2 separate regions of the Homo sapiens genome follow, and region 2 is linked to region 1. The links are contacts of gene promoters, found by promoter capture Hi-C in blood cells and fetal thymus (Javierre and others, 2016). All regions are on one chromosome and are shown on one strand. The core of a region is centred on a gene start or on the middle of the fragment in contact, and the rest is flanking DNA. Distances in the headings are between cores, read along the strand shown. Region 1 holds the start of APLP1 (amyloid beta precursor like protein 1). Region 2 overlaps WDR62 (WD repeat domain 62).

What was found. The method cuts DNA at HindIII sites, captures the fragments that hold promoters and counts their contacts. A CHiCAGO score of 5 or more calls a contact.
Region 2: a contact is called between a fragment that was not itself captured here and the fragment with the promoter of APLP1 in region 1, in 1 of 17 cell types (naive CD8 T cells). The highest score is 5.2, in naive CD8 T cells.

What each region holds. Positions count from the first base shown.
Region 1 is chr19:35,863,756-35,869,981 of GRCh38, reverse strand. APLP1 (amyloid beta precursor like protein 1) reads right to left here and starts at 1,408. Exons shown (of 17, transcript NM_001024807.3): 1 at 1,199-1,408; 2 at 172-315. The coding sequence starts at 1,345. LOC107985317 (a long non-coding RNA gene) reads left to right here and starts at 625. Exons shown (of 4, transcript XR_001753932.2): 1 at 625-890; 2 at 1,852-2,107; 3 at 3,389-3,495. KIRREL2 (kirre like nephrin family adhesion molecule 2) reads right to left here. Exons shown (of 15, transcript NM_199180.4): 14 at 5,269-5,334; 15 at 2,846-3,825. The coding sequence ends at 3,490. RefSeq lists silencers at 1,168-1,237, 1,328-1,587. The HindIII fragment of the contact is 13,044 bases long and covers 1-6,226 here.
Region 2 is chr19:36,104,889-36,111,114 of GRCh38, reverse strand. WDR62 (WD repeat domain 62) reads right to left here. Exons shown (of 32, transcript NM_001083961.2): 32 at 6,007-6,226. The coding sequence ends at 6,087. Among named protein-coding and RNA genes, the nearest start is that of OVOL3, 3.1 kb to the left of the region's middle. RefSeq lists an enhancer at 1-373. The HindIII fragment of the contact is 223 bases long and covers 3,909-4,131 here.

The DNA of each region.
Region 1 (6,226 bases), core at 159-2,658:
TTCCTGACTTAGTATCTCAAAACAGGTCCCCTGCCCCTAGCATAGTTGCGCCTCTTTATTGGCCACGCCCCCCAGCCTCCACGCCTTAGATCGCGCAGCACCCTGGACCACGCCTTTTTCAAGTCTAGCTTTCTATGGGCGGCCCCGCCTCTCCCGTTCGGCCCCGCCCACCTGTCTGCAGTACTCCAGCACGCGCTGCGGGTCCCGGAGACAGCGTCGAGAGCGCTGTGGGTCTGGTTCCCAGCGGCCGGTGCGCAGGTCCCGGTGAAGGGTTAGGCGCCCGCATAGTCCAGCCACCTGGGCCGACCCCGGGGCCTGGATGGAAGTGGAAAGGACAGTGAGGGCTCGGGGGGCGTTGGCATGAGGGTCCCCTGGTTCTTTGCTCCCTAGGACCGAGACCCCCAGCACCAGCCCCCTCCCCCAAGCACCGCACACCGCCTCCATGGAGGCACCGTTCCCTGGGAAACAGCTCCCGTAGGGCGGGGGCGCCCCAGCGCTCCCGTTGCTATGGCGACCTGGGTCCCCCGGGATTCTTTCTGCCTTGTTGCCGCGGAGACAGACTCCGCCCCCACCCCAGCGCAGCCGCTCTGGAGCCCGAAGGGGTTAAACCTGAATCGCGGAGGAGGAGGCCAGAACCCAGGAGTTCTGGCCCCTCCTCCCTCCATCCCTTGCTCAGGCTCCCGTTGCAGGATGCAAAGCTGACAAGGCCTGGCTTCAGGGGCCTACAGTCCTGGACACCAGGTCCTTGAGGACTGGAGAGCTACATCTGGTTGGGGTGGGTGGTGACTGAAGGACTGGACTCCTGGGTCCTGGGAGGCTGCAAGGGCCTCCATATGGGTCCAGAGAATACAAGGGGTCTGGATTATTGGATCTAAATGCCTCGCTGCTTGGTGGGTCCTATGTCCAGGCGGGAGGGGGTTGGGGCCGAGTCACCTGGGTCTGGAGAGGGGGCTGGACTTCTGGGACCAGGGGCTCTGAATAGACCAGTTCCTATGCTCGAGATGGGAGGGGGCTGGGACGTCGCATGATGGGGGAGCTGGGGCCTGGAACCCTGGGTTCATAAATGTGATTGGGGGCGCCTGGGGGCTGACCACCTGGCTGGAAAGACCGCGCTTTCTGCCCTGGACATGTCCGCGCCGGCGTCCAGAGACCCGGTCCCGCCCCTTCCCCCATCCCCCAGGACCCGGCCCGGCCTCACCTCGGCCGCGCCGGGGCTCCCACCGGCCAGGCTCCCGATGGCGGGCTGCGCGCGCAGAAGCAGCAGCAATAGTGGCAGCAGCAGCGGCAGCGGCGGCTGGCCCGGGCGGCGACTTAGACCGCGAGCAGCGGGGCTGGCGGGCCCCATGTCCCGGCCCTTGCGCCCTCACGTCCCCTGCACTCCCGCCCGGCCCGGCCCCAGCGGTGACAGGAGCTCCCAGCGCCACCGCCGCCACCTCCTCCTCCCGCCGCCCCCGGGCTGCGCCGGCGCCGCCAGCCCCGCCCCGCGCCGGCCCCGCCTTCCTGGTCAGGACAATAGCGTGGCGGCTTCGCGCAGAGTGGAGCAGCTCGGGAACCCCGGGCGGGAGCCTGCGCCAGGCCCCCGCCCCTCGAGATTCCAGGCGTCCCGCCCCATGAAGGGCCCAGCCAGGAGTCCGGCTATGGGCTCCGCCCGTTGTGGATTTTGAGTCCTCCCGCAGGACTCTCACCCTCTTTAGACCCAGACACTCACAGTTTTGTCCTTTTCCAAGGATGCAAGCATCAGAGACCCCCATCCCCTAGTACATTCCTCTGTTGAGGGCTCAGGAATACAGGCCTCCAAAATGTCCCCAGTCAAGAAGGCAGCAGTTGAGACCTAGTCCCTTCCTCTTTCAGATCCAGAAGTCTGGGCACCTTCTCTCTCAGGACCAGAGACCAAGCCCCCAGCCCATTCTCCTTCAGACCCAGGAGTTCACTCTTCTTGCTCTGCTTCCCAAGGGTCCCAGGGGCCTGGACCTTTAACTCCTAGCTCAAGGATCCATGAACCAAAGCCCCCAGGACCTTTCTTTAAGGATCATCCAAGCAGGCACCAGCACCATGCCCACTGTGGATGCAGCACCTCAGGATTAGGGTCTGGATCTCCACGCTTGCTGTAAGGACCAGGGGATTGCCATTTTCCTACCCATAGTCTCCCCTTCCCTGCTCCACTTCAGGGCTCACTTGTTTGTCTCCTCTAATGAGAGTTAGAATTCAGTCTTCCCCAGGACCCCTGGGGCAGCCCTGTCACTTGTGTGCAACTGTGTGGACATCTATGCGTGTGTCTGTGCATACATGCCTATGTGTGTGTCTTTTCTGTTTGCAACTCATGTGTGTGTGTGCGTGTGTGTGTGTGTGTGTGTGTGTGTGAAGATGTATATTAAAAGAGCCCATGGCTGGGCACAGTGGCTCATGCCTGTAATCCCAGCACATTGGGAGGCCTAGGTGGGCGGATCACTTGAGGTCAGGAGTTTGAGACCAGCCTGGCCAACATGGTGAAACCCTGTCTACAAACAAATACAAAAATTAGCTGGGTGTGGTGGCATGCACCTGTAGTCCCAGCTACTTGGGAGGCTGAGGTGGAAGGATGGCTTGAGCCCAGGATGCAGAGGTAGCAGTGGGCTGAGATCATGCCACTGCACTCCAATGTGGGCCATAGAGCCAGATCTTGTCTCAAGAAAAAAAAAAAAAGAGCCTAGAGTGCTTTGCAGGTAGCAAGAGGCTGAGAGGTGGCTCACAGTTTTACTCCTACAGCCACCTCATAGGCTAGGGTAGAGGAGGGACCTTGGGACAGGTCTAAGGGACCCCTTCCTTGGTGGAGAGTGATAATGCCAGTAGACTCCCTAAGACACACTTGCCTCTTTGACTTTTTTTTATTATTAAACATAAATATTTTTATCCCAATATTTTGCCCCAACAGTGGTAATTCTCACTGTATCCCCACTCCTTGGGTCCAAGTCTTTCTGAGTCTTTAAGGAAAGTAAAATCAAGATGGTGGCCATCTTGGGTTCCTAGGGAGTATATGGCCATCTTGGCTGCATTTCCATTGGCCGAGCAAAGTTCCCCTCAGGGAGAGCCAGGGTGGGGCCTGGTATGCTCTTCATCTTCATCTATCCTATGCTACCTTTCCTCTCAATGCAGATGGTCATCTTGAAATATCTTCTTTCAGTGGCTAGAAACAACTTCCATCCCGGCCCCAAACTCCCAACACCCACTGCCCTGTCCCCATCTCTCCTCAAAGGGCCTACCTGCCATCTTGAATCTCTTTTACACCGGGGAATAGGTGGGCATATTGGGTGGCCATGTTGCTCCCACTTGGGGCATCTCCTTTGGCTGAGCTGACTGTATACAAATGCTCCTGACAAATGTAATGATCTTTCCCTCCCCTTGTGTTCAGTTTTGGAGGAGTAAGGTCGCCAACTTGTCCTGGCTCCTCAGAAATCAGAACAATCCATTATGGCAAGTTGGAGATCCCAGGACTCTTCCATTGGAAAGATGTCACACGTGAGTCTGGAGACGCGGGTGGCTAGGTGTGGGGAAGGCAGCATATGGGAAGGGGGGAGTCCCGGGGGCCAGATCTGGGGGCCCAAAGGATGTGGGTTTGATGTAGCTGGTGAAAGCTCGAGGGTGGGGTGTGGTGAGATAGCCTGCCCTGGCTCTGTAAAGTCTGCAGGGGGGGACCATGCCCAGGTGTGGGTTGAAGTCATAGAAGGTAGGGGTCCCTGGGGGCCCAAGGGGGGAGGGTGGTGGCAGGAAGAGACCTCCTCCAGGGGCTTCGCCAAGGCTCAGGCTCACACTGACTCCTCGGACCTTGTAGTAACCGTTGGTTGGGTCCTGAGGGGACAAATGGGACTCAGTAAAGTCTGTGAGCGTGCAGGGGGGATGAGGGTCACTGATGGAGAGACACACTGAAATAGACCAGACCTTGAGAGAGACAAAAAGAGACAGGAGTGGGCAGAGACACAGAGACACACATGGACTGGGAGAGAGAGAAAGTGAGACAGAGGAACAGTGATAAGAGGCAAATGGATAGGACATAGGCAGAGAAAGGTAGAGACGGAGGGATATAGGCCTGCTGAGGGGTGTCGGTGTGGAAGGTGCAGAGGGAACAGGAGAGAGACACTCACCTGCCCAACAGCCTCTAGGCTTTGATTCAGTGTCACACCCTGTGTTGCTGCTACAAGGCATGTCACTAGGATAGAACTGGACCCTGTCCTCACAGAATCCCACACCAAAGGAAAAATGACAGATCATGAGACAGTACCCAGAGGGGTCAGGGCTGTGCCTGGGAAAGGCATAGGCAATGACAGGGGCTGTGATGGTAGAGCCCTCAGCATAGTGGGTGGGATAAGGAAGCCCAGATCAGAGTGGTCATGGCTGTGATGGGTGGAACACAGGCAAAATGATCGAGCTGTCATGACGGAAGCATGGGCTTCCTAGAACAAGAAATGTCTGAGCTGAGACTGGAGGACTAAAGGAAGGAATTAGGTAGACATGGGAAGGAAGGTAGGAGTGTTTCAGGCCAAGAGAATGGCATGTCGGCTGGGCACAGTGGCTCACGCCTGTAATCCCAGCACTTTGGGAGGCTGGGGCGAGCGGATCACTTGAGGTCAGGAGTTCCAGATCAGCCTGGCCAACATGGTGAAACTCCATCTCTACTAAAAATACAAGAAAAATTAGCCAGCTATTAGGGAGCCTGAGGCAGGAGAATGGCTTGAACCCAGGAGGCAGAGGTTGCAGTGAGCTGAGATTGCACCACTGCACTCCAGCCTGGGCAACAGAATGAGACTCCGTCTCAAAAAAAAAAAAAAAAAAAAGAAGAGAGAGAATGGCATGTGCTAGGTACGCAGGAGAGAGAGAGAGAGAGAAGTGCTCTGGCCTGGGGATGGCCTGGAGTCAATGTGGCTGTCCTGAGGTAGGACCCCAGAGGAAGAACCAGTCTGGGGAGATGTGGGGCCAGTGTAGGACCTGGTGGCTGAAAGGGGGCTTGACCGTGATGAGGAGAGCACAGGCAGGGTGAGCCCTGGTCTGGGGCTCCAGATGGAGGCTAGGGCTGGGACAGATGTGTGGGAAGAGTCTGCAGACAGGCAAACTGAGGCTGGGAGCTGAGTGAGATGGCCCAGGGGGCAGGAGGAGTGGGGTGGGGAGCTGAGTCCCAACTCTGAGGACAACAGAAGGAAAAAGGAGGGGACAGGCGTGGGAGAGAGACGGAAACACAATGAAGGGAGCCCCGCCTCTCCCAACAGTGAAGGGAGCCCCACCCCTCTCAACACTCACCTTGGTCTCCAGAGTCCCTTCCTCCTCCAGAACCAGATCACTGTGGTCAGTGTGCACAATGGGGCCCTGGGGTAGGGAACTTAGTGAGAGGGAATAGTCAGAGGATCCCCCCGCCCCAATGCCAGACCCCAAGGACCTTCAGCCAGCCAGTGGAGGCCAGGCAGGAGGGAGTAAGAGCACCCAAGAGCTGGGGACTGCACTCAGGACAATAAAAGGGCTGTAAGAAGCCAGCACAGTGGCTCATGCATGTAATCCCAGCACTTTGGGAGGCCGCAGCAGGAGTATCACTTGAGGCCAGAAGTTTGAGACCAGCCTGGCTAACATGCCGAAACTCTGTCTCTACTAAAAATGCAAAAAATAGGCAGGCATGGTGGCAGGCACCTGTAATTTCAGCTACTCAGGAGGCTAAGGAACGAGAATCACTTGAACTGGGAGGTGGAGGGTGCAGTGAGTCTGGATTGCACCACTGCATTCCAGCTTGGACGACAGAGCAAGACTCTATCTCAAAAACAACAACAACAACAACAACAACAACAAAAACGGGCTGTGGGGACATACTGGGCCTAGGGAATAATTGGGTCAGGGGCATGGACTTGGGTGACATTTGGGTGTGGGGTCACTGTTAAGACTAGAGCCCTTGGCCGGGCGCGGTGGCTCACGCCTGTAATCCCAGCACTTTGGGAGGCCGAGACGAGCGGATCACGAGGTCAGGAGATCCAGACCATCCTGGCTAACACGGTATACACCTCGTCTCTACTAAAAATACAAAAAAATTAGCTGGACATGGTGGCGGGTGCCTGTAGTCCCAGCTACTCTGGAGGCTGAGGCAGGAGAATGGTGTGAACCCGGGAGGTGGAGCTTGCAGTGAGTCGAGTTCGCGCCACTGCACTCCAGCCTGGGCTACAGACCAAGACTCCGTCTCAAAAAAAAGAAAGAAAGAAAAAAAAAGACTTGAGCC
Region 2 (6,226 bases), core at 2,771-5,270, 240 kb before region 1:
GGGGAAGCCTCTGAGGAACCTCATTCTCTTCATGCAAATTTCCTGGCTGGCCCTGGGAGTGGACTAAGCTGGCTCAGGTTACCCCTGCCTGGGGACCTGCCCATCTTCTCCCAGGTTTTGGAGGGAACCATCCAGCCTCCAGGGGTGGACAAGCACTAGGACCACCAAGCAGAGCCAGGCAAGGGGAGATGGGCCTGGGGAGCTTTTGAGGATAGGAAGAAGAAACAAGGCCCCAGGGGGACTGTCTCCCAGGGGTTGAGGGTCTGTTTGCCAGGCAAATCAGTCACCAGGGGACATCCAGCAGCCTGCCTGGTTATTCAAATCACAGCAGCTGTCTGAGGACACTGAAGGGGCCCCCTGCTGTGATTGCCCTGCTCTGTAGGGTGCAGGGAGGACAGCAGATCTGGATAAATCAGGGCAAAATGAGGATCCAGGCTGTGCATCCTCAGGTAGGATGCCCCACCTCTCTGATCTTCAGATTCCCAGGGCTAACATTCAGCCAGAAGCACTGTTCAGGTGTAGCAGGCACTAAAATACTAGTTTGTTAATAATCTAGCCCCTAGTTACTGCCTGGGACAACACTCTTCCTCCCTCCCACAGTCTGGAAAGTAAAAGGGGGTCTCCTATTTTTTTTTCTTTTTTTGAGACGGAGTTTCACTCTTGTTGCCCAGGCTGGAGTGCAGTGGCACCATCTTGGCTCACTGGAACCTCCACCTCCCGGGTTCAAACGATTCTCCTGCCTCAGCCTCCTGAGTAGCTGGGACTACAGGCATGCACCACCACACCGGGCTAATTTTTGTATTTTTGGTAGAGACAGAGTTTCACCATGTTGGCCAGGCTAGTCTTGAACTCCTGACGTCAAGTGATCCGCCTGCCTTGGCCTCCCAAAGTGCTGGGATTACAGGCATGAGCCACCGCACCTGGCCCAAAGGGGGTCTCTTGACACAGCCAGGGGCTCCCAGGACCCTACCCCGGCACACTGGCCAAGCTGTTTTACACTTGATTCTTAGCCAGAAGACTAAGAAGCAATCCAAGCTCTGTTTTTTAATTTTTTTTTTTTGAGGCGGAGTTTTGCTCGTTGCCCAGGCTGGAGTGCAATGGCGTGATCTTGGCTCCTCTATGACCTCCGCCTCCTGGGTTCAAGTGAGTCTCCTGCCTCAGCCTTCCAAGTAGCTGGGATTACAGGGGCACACCACTGCACCCAGCTGATTTTTTGTGTTTTTTGTAGAGATGGGGTTTCACCATGTTGGCCAGGCTGGTCTCAAACTCCTAAATGCAGGTGATCCGCCCGGCTCAGCCTCCCAAAGTGCTGGGATTACAGGCGTGAGCCACCGCGCCCAACCTGTTTTTATTTTTTTTGTTTTGTTTTGTTTTGTTTTTTGAGACAGATTCTCACTCTGTTGCCCAGGCTGGAGTGCAGTGGTACGATCTCCACACACTGCAGCCTCCGTCTCCTGGGTTCAAGCGATTCTGCTGCCTCAGTCCCCCAAGTAGCTGGGACTACAGGTGCGCACCACCACACCCGGCTAATTTTTGTATTTTTAGTAGAGATAGGGTTTCACCATGTTGGGCAGGCTGGTCTCAAACTCCTGACCTCGAGTGATCCACCTGCCTCAACCTCCCAAAGTGCTGGGATTACAGGCGTGAGCCATTGCGCCTGGCAACTAAACAATTTTCTAAGCTCCAGACCTAGCTTACTGAAAATGATCGCGTAAGTCCATGAAGGAGGCACACCAGTGACAGCCCAGAATGACCAAGACAGTGAGAGGCAAGTGAGGCAGAGACCCAGCCATGATGGGGAAAAGAGGGGTACCTGGGGACCCGAACAGGCTCCTGATCCAGGCTACGGGTACAGGGATGGCTTCCTGGATAAGCGCTGAAAGGTTTCAGATGAAAGGGGAGGGTGTTCTAGTCAGAGGGGGACATCTGTACAAGGCTTGCTGGTGAGAGGAGTATTTCTTCATTTCTTTACATTGCCCGAGAGTCAGTTGTGCCAATTCATTTGGGGAAGCAAGGGTGGCAGTGCTGAGGGTCTGCTGGCCATGCATTTCCGCTTGCTCTCTGCAGGACCCAGAGCAAGTCATTTCTCATTGGGCCTCGGTTTCTTCACCTGGAAAATGAGACTAAGGAATCTCCCTCTTCCCAGTTTGTATTGAAGATCCATGTAGCTCACATGGAGAGAATGCTTAGCATGGGGCCTGGCATGTGGCAGACATATAAGCAGGGATTGGTTAGGAAGGTTTTTTTTTTTTTTTTTTTTTGAGACAGGGCCTTGCTTTGTCACCTAGGCTGGAGTGCAGTGGAGTGAACACAGCTCACTGTAGCCTCAAGCTCCTGGGCTCAAGTGATCCTCCCACATCAACCTCCCAAGTAGCTGGGACTACAGGCGTGCACCACCACACCTAGCTAATTTTAAAATTTTTTGTAGAGGTGGAGTCTTGCTATGTTGCCTAGGGCTGGTTTTGAACTCCTGAGCTCAAACCGTCTGCCTGCCTTGGCCTCCCAAAGTGTTGGGATTACAGGAATGAGCCACTGCATCCTGCCGAGGAATCCCTCCTCTGGGCAAACATCCAGGCCTCAGGTGGGTCATCTGCAAAATGGGGTTTCAGGTGGTGTCTCCATTTTGCAATTGTTGGCTTTCCTGCAGCCCTGACTGGGATGCCTGGCACGGGCCTGGCAGCTCAGGACCCAGGAGCTGTCCTGATGGTACTGCTATGGGGAGGCCAAGGGTAGATGTGGGGGTAGAAGCAGGGGGGGAGTTGCAGTGAAAGATGAACTGTTTTCCTTCCAGGGACCCAGTTCCCCAGGAACCCTCTCAGTCCTGTTCTGCCCTGCTCCATGGCCTAGGAGGTTGACTGGAGGCGGGGTCACCTGGGCTTCTATGCACTCTGGCTTCCAGTAGGATTTGGACAATGGGGTGCCCTGCAGGAGGGGAGTAAGGTCAGGGTGTTGATTCTCACTCCGTCCTGTGTGGGAGTCAGGGCTGCAGCTCCCTCAGCACTACCCTCTCCCTGGGATTTGCTCTTTTGGGTTCTTGTTCCTTCTCTTTGTGCCTTGTGGCCTGGGGGTGGTAACAGCTCCCAGGGTGCCAGTCCTGGGGTTCTGCACCAGCCTCGGTGGTTTCCCAGTCCCTGCTGCTCCTTTGCAAATGATCCCTTGGTTAAACTCTTTGGAATATCCCATCTAAGCATGCTGTCATCTTTCTGCTGGGACCCTGTCAGCTCACAAACCACATGCACACATGCTGCACCACCAGCAGTGGCTTCTTAACCAGGTGGTTTATCCTGGTTAAGAAGTATGGAGAAAGTATGGTCCTTCCAGGACAGAGCCTGGCATTTGGAAGAGGGAAGTGGCAGACATGCTGGATCCTCTCTGATTACCAGCCCACTTGCCTTTCTTATTGAGAGAACCTCTTTGTTTGAGCTGCAACATGCCCAGGACAGGAGAGATGGTCCAAGCACATCAAAGCAATCTCCATTCCTGTTGCCTGGGACTCATCTGACCCCAGATGAGTCTCCCAGGGAGACCCCTGGGAGAGATCTGCATCTTTTCTGCTGCCCTAGAGGGTGCCCTGCTCTGTGCCTTTGCTCCTGGTTGGACCAGGCCACCCAGCAGCTGGGACCAATAACTTGGGCCTCTGACCCTCATGTCATTGTGCACCTGGCCTCTTCCTCTCCTGCTGTCACCCTCTGTGAGCCCCCTGCACTCCACATCTAACCTCAGCCTCCCCATAGCAGTACTATCGGGGCAGCTTCTAGCTCCTGCGCTTCCAGGCTTATGCCAGGCACTTCAGTCAGGGCTGCAGGAAAGCCAACAATTGCAAAATGGAGACACCACCTGAGGGTGTGCTGCTGGGTGCCACAGCAGCCGTGTTGCAACCATGAGGCCATAAGCTGGAGACTGAAGCTTGCTCACAGAGGATAACAGAGCAGGAGAGGAAGAGGCCAGGTGCATGATGACATCAAGGGTAACCAACGTCCCTCCATCTTGGGCCCTGAAAGCCAGGTGTTTACTCCTTGGAGCAGAAGACTTTACTATGATACAGGTTGGAAGGAAGGGTAATTCCATGCATGACAGAGGCCCAAGGTGGTCTCCTGGGTGTCCGAGGCCTGGGGGGCTGAACACCAAGCTTTGCCCAGGGATGTTGGGCAAGGTTTTGGGCAATGGTGGCCGAACTAGGCAGATGGGCCTAGGCCTAGGCAGGTGGTTCAAGTTCTGGACCACCTGGACTCCCTGAGGCAGAGTCGTGAGAAATAAGCAACACTGGATATCCCCCAAACATTAAGAGCAGAGATTTAGAAACAAACCCAAAAACAAAAAACTGTTCTGGATATTCCTTGGACTTAAATGTTATGAAGCAACAAGGCCCTGCTCCTCCTTGCACCTCAGCTCCTGCCCTCCCCTTGCTCACTCCATTCCAGCCGTCCGGGCTTCGCTCCTCTTGCTTCCACACAGATCACGTGTGGCTGCCCCAGGCCTGTGCACTGGCTGTGCTGTCGGCCTGGATGTGTTCCTGAGATGTCCTCTATCAAGCTTCAGCCCAAATGTCACCTCGAAAGGCCTTCCCTGACCCTTCACCAGCAATGGATCTCCCCAACCTATCTAGAATTATACAGAGCTCTAATTCCTGCATCTGTTTGACTGTATAGAAGGTGAGTGGCCATGAGGGCAGGTGCGTTGCCTGATGTTCCTTCTGCTACAGTGCCCGGCACCTGGGTGGGAACTGGCAGGATTTTTTTTTTTTTTTTTTTTGAGACTTGCTGTGTCACCCAGGCTGAAGTACAATGATGGTGTGATCTCAGCTCACTGAAACCTCTGCCTCCTGGGTTTGAGCGATTCTCCTGCCTCAACCTCCTGAGTAGCTGGGACTACAGGTGTGCACCACCACACCCCAGCCAAGAGTGGCTTTTTTAGCAGACACCCCATGTGGCCAGATGCCTGCTGTCTGGGGGAGCTGGTAGCAGTGCTGGGAGCTCGTGGAATGTAGAACTTCTGAAGGGGAAGCAGTTATTGGTCCCAGCTGCTCGTGGCCTGGGCCTGCTGCCAGGATCATACAGTGGGCAAGCCTGCCTGGGTTTCTTGTTTTATTTTGTTTTATTTAAAGAGACGGGGTTTTGGCCAGGTGCGGTGGCTCATGCCTGTAATCCCAGCACTTTGGGAGGCCGAGGTGGGCGGATCTCCCAAGGTCAGGAGTTTGAGACCAGCCTGGCCAACATGGCAAAACCCCGTCTCTACTAAAAATACAAAAATCAGCTGAGTATGGTGGTGGGTGCCTGTAATCCCAGCTACTCGGGAGGCTGAGGCAGGAGAATCGCTTGAACCCGGGAGGCGGAGGTTGCAGTGAGCCAAGATCGCACCACTGCACTCTAGCCTGGATGACACAGCAAGATTCCATCTCAAAAACAAAAATAAATAAATAAATACATGAAATAAAGAGATGGGGTTTCACCAAGTTGCCCAGGCTGGTCTCAAACTCCTGGCCTCAAGCGATCCTCCCACCTCAGCCTCCTGAGTAGCCGGGATTATAGGTGCAGGCCACCATACCCAGCTTGGGCAAGCCTGTTCATGGGTCCTCAGTTTCCCCTGTTGCAGATGGGGACACCACCACCGTGGACTTTGTGGGATCTAGTGTGGCCTTGGCCCAGAGGCCCTGAGCCATGATATGGCAAAGCGTGGACTGCTGGGCAAGGTAGGCACATGGTGATCACAGCAGCCCCAGTGAGTTCTCAGGCACTGGCAGGGGGCAGGTAAGAGGGTCTGGCTCCTCCCTGGGGCACAAATGGGCCCCACTGGGTAAGCACCTCACACTGGTCTGTGGCAGCTCTGTGGGCAGTGTGGGAGGACTGGCCCTGAGGTCATGGCTGCAGTTCCTGAACTTCTTGGGAGCGCTGGTCCCATGCTCTCCACTGACAGACACGAGTCCTCTGGGCATCACCTTCTACCCTCCCTCCCCACTTCCACTTGAAGAGGGCTTTGTGGATAGGCCCAAACAGACACCAGGAACCATTCCTCAAAGCTGTCAGTTTATTCGCTTAAAATACCTAAGTCCTCAGAAGCAGCAGGGCTGCGGTGGAGGGGCTGCGCCCTCAGTGCCCCCGTGCCTTCCTCCGCACGGCCTGCACCAGCAGCTCCGAGTAGTGTTCCAGCAGGGCCTGCAGGTCTGGGCTGGCCAGGGGGTACAGCGTCGGTGGGGACGGGGGTCCTGGGCTGGGCAGAGCCTGGGCTG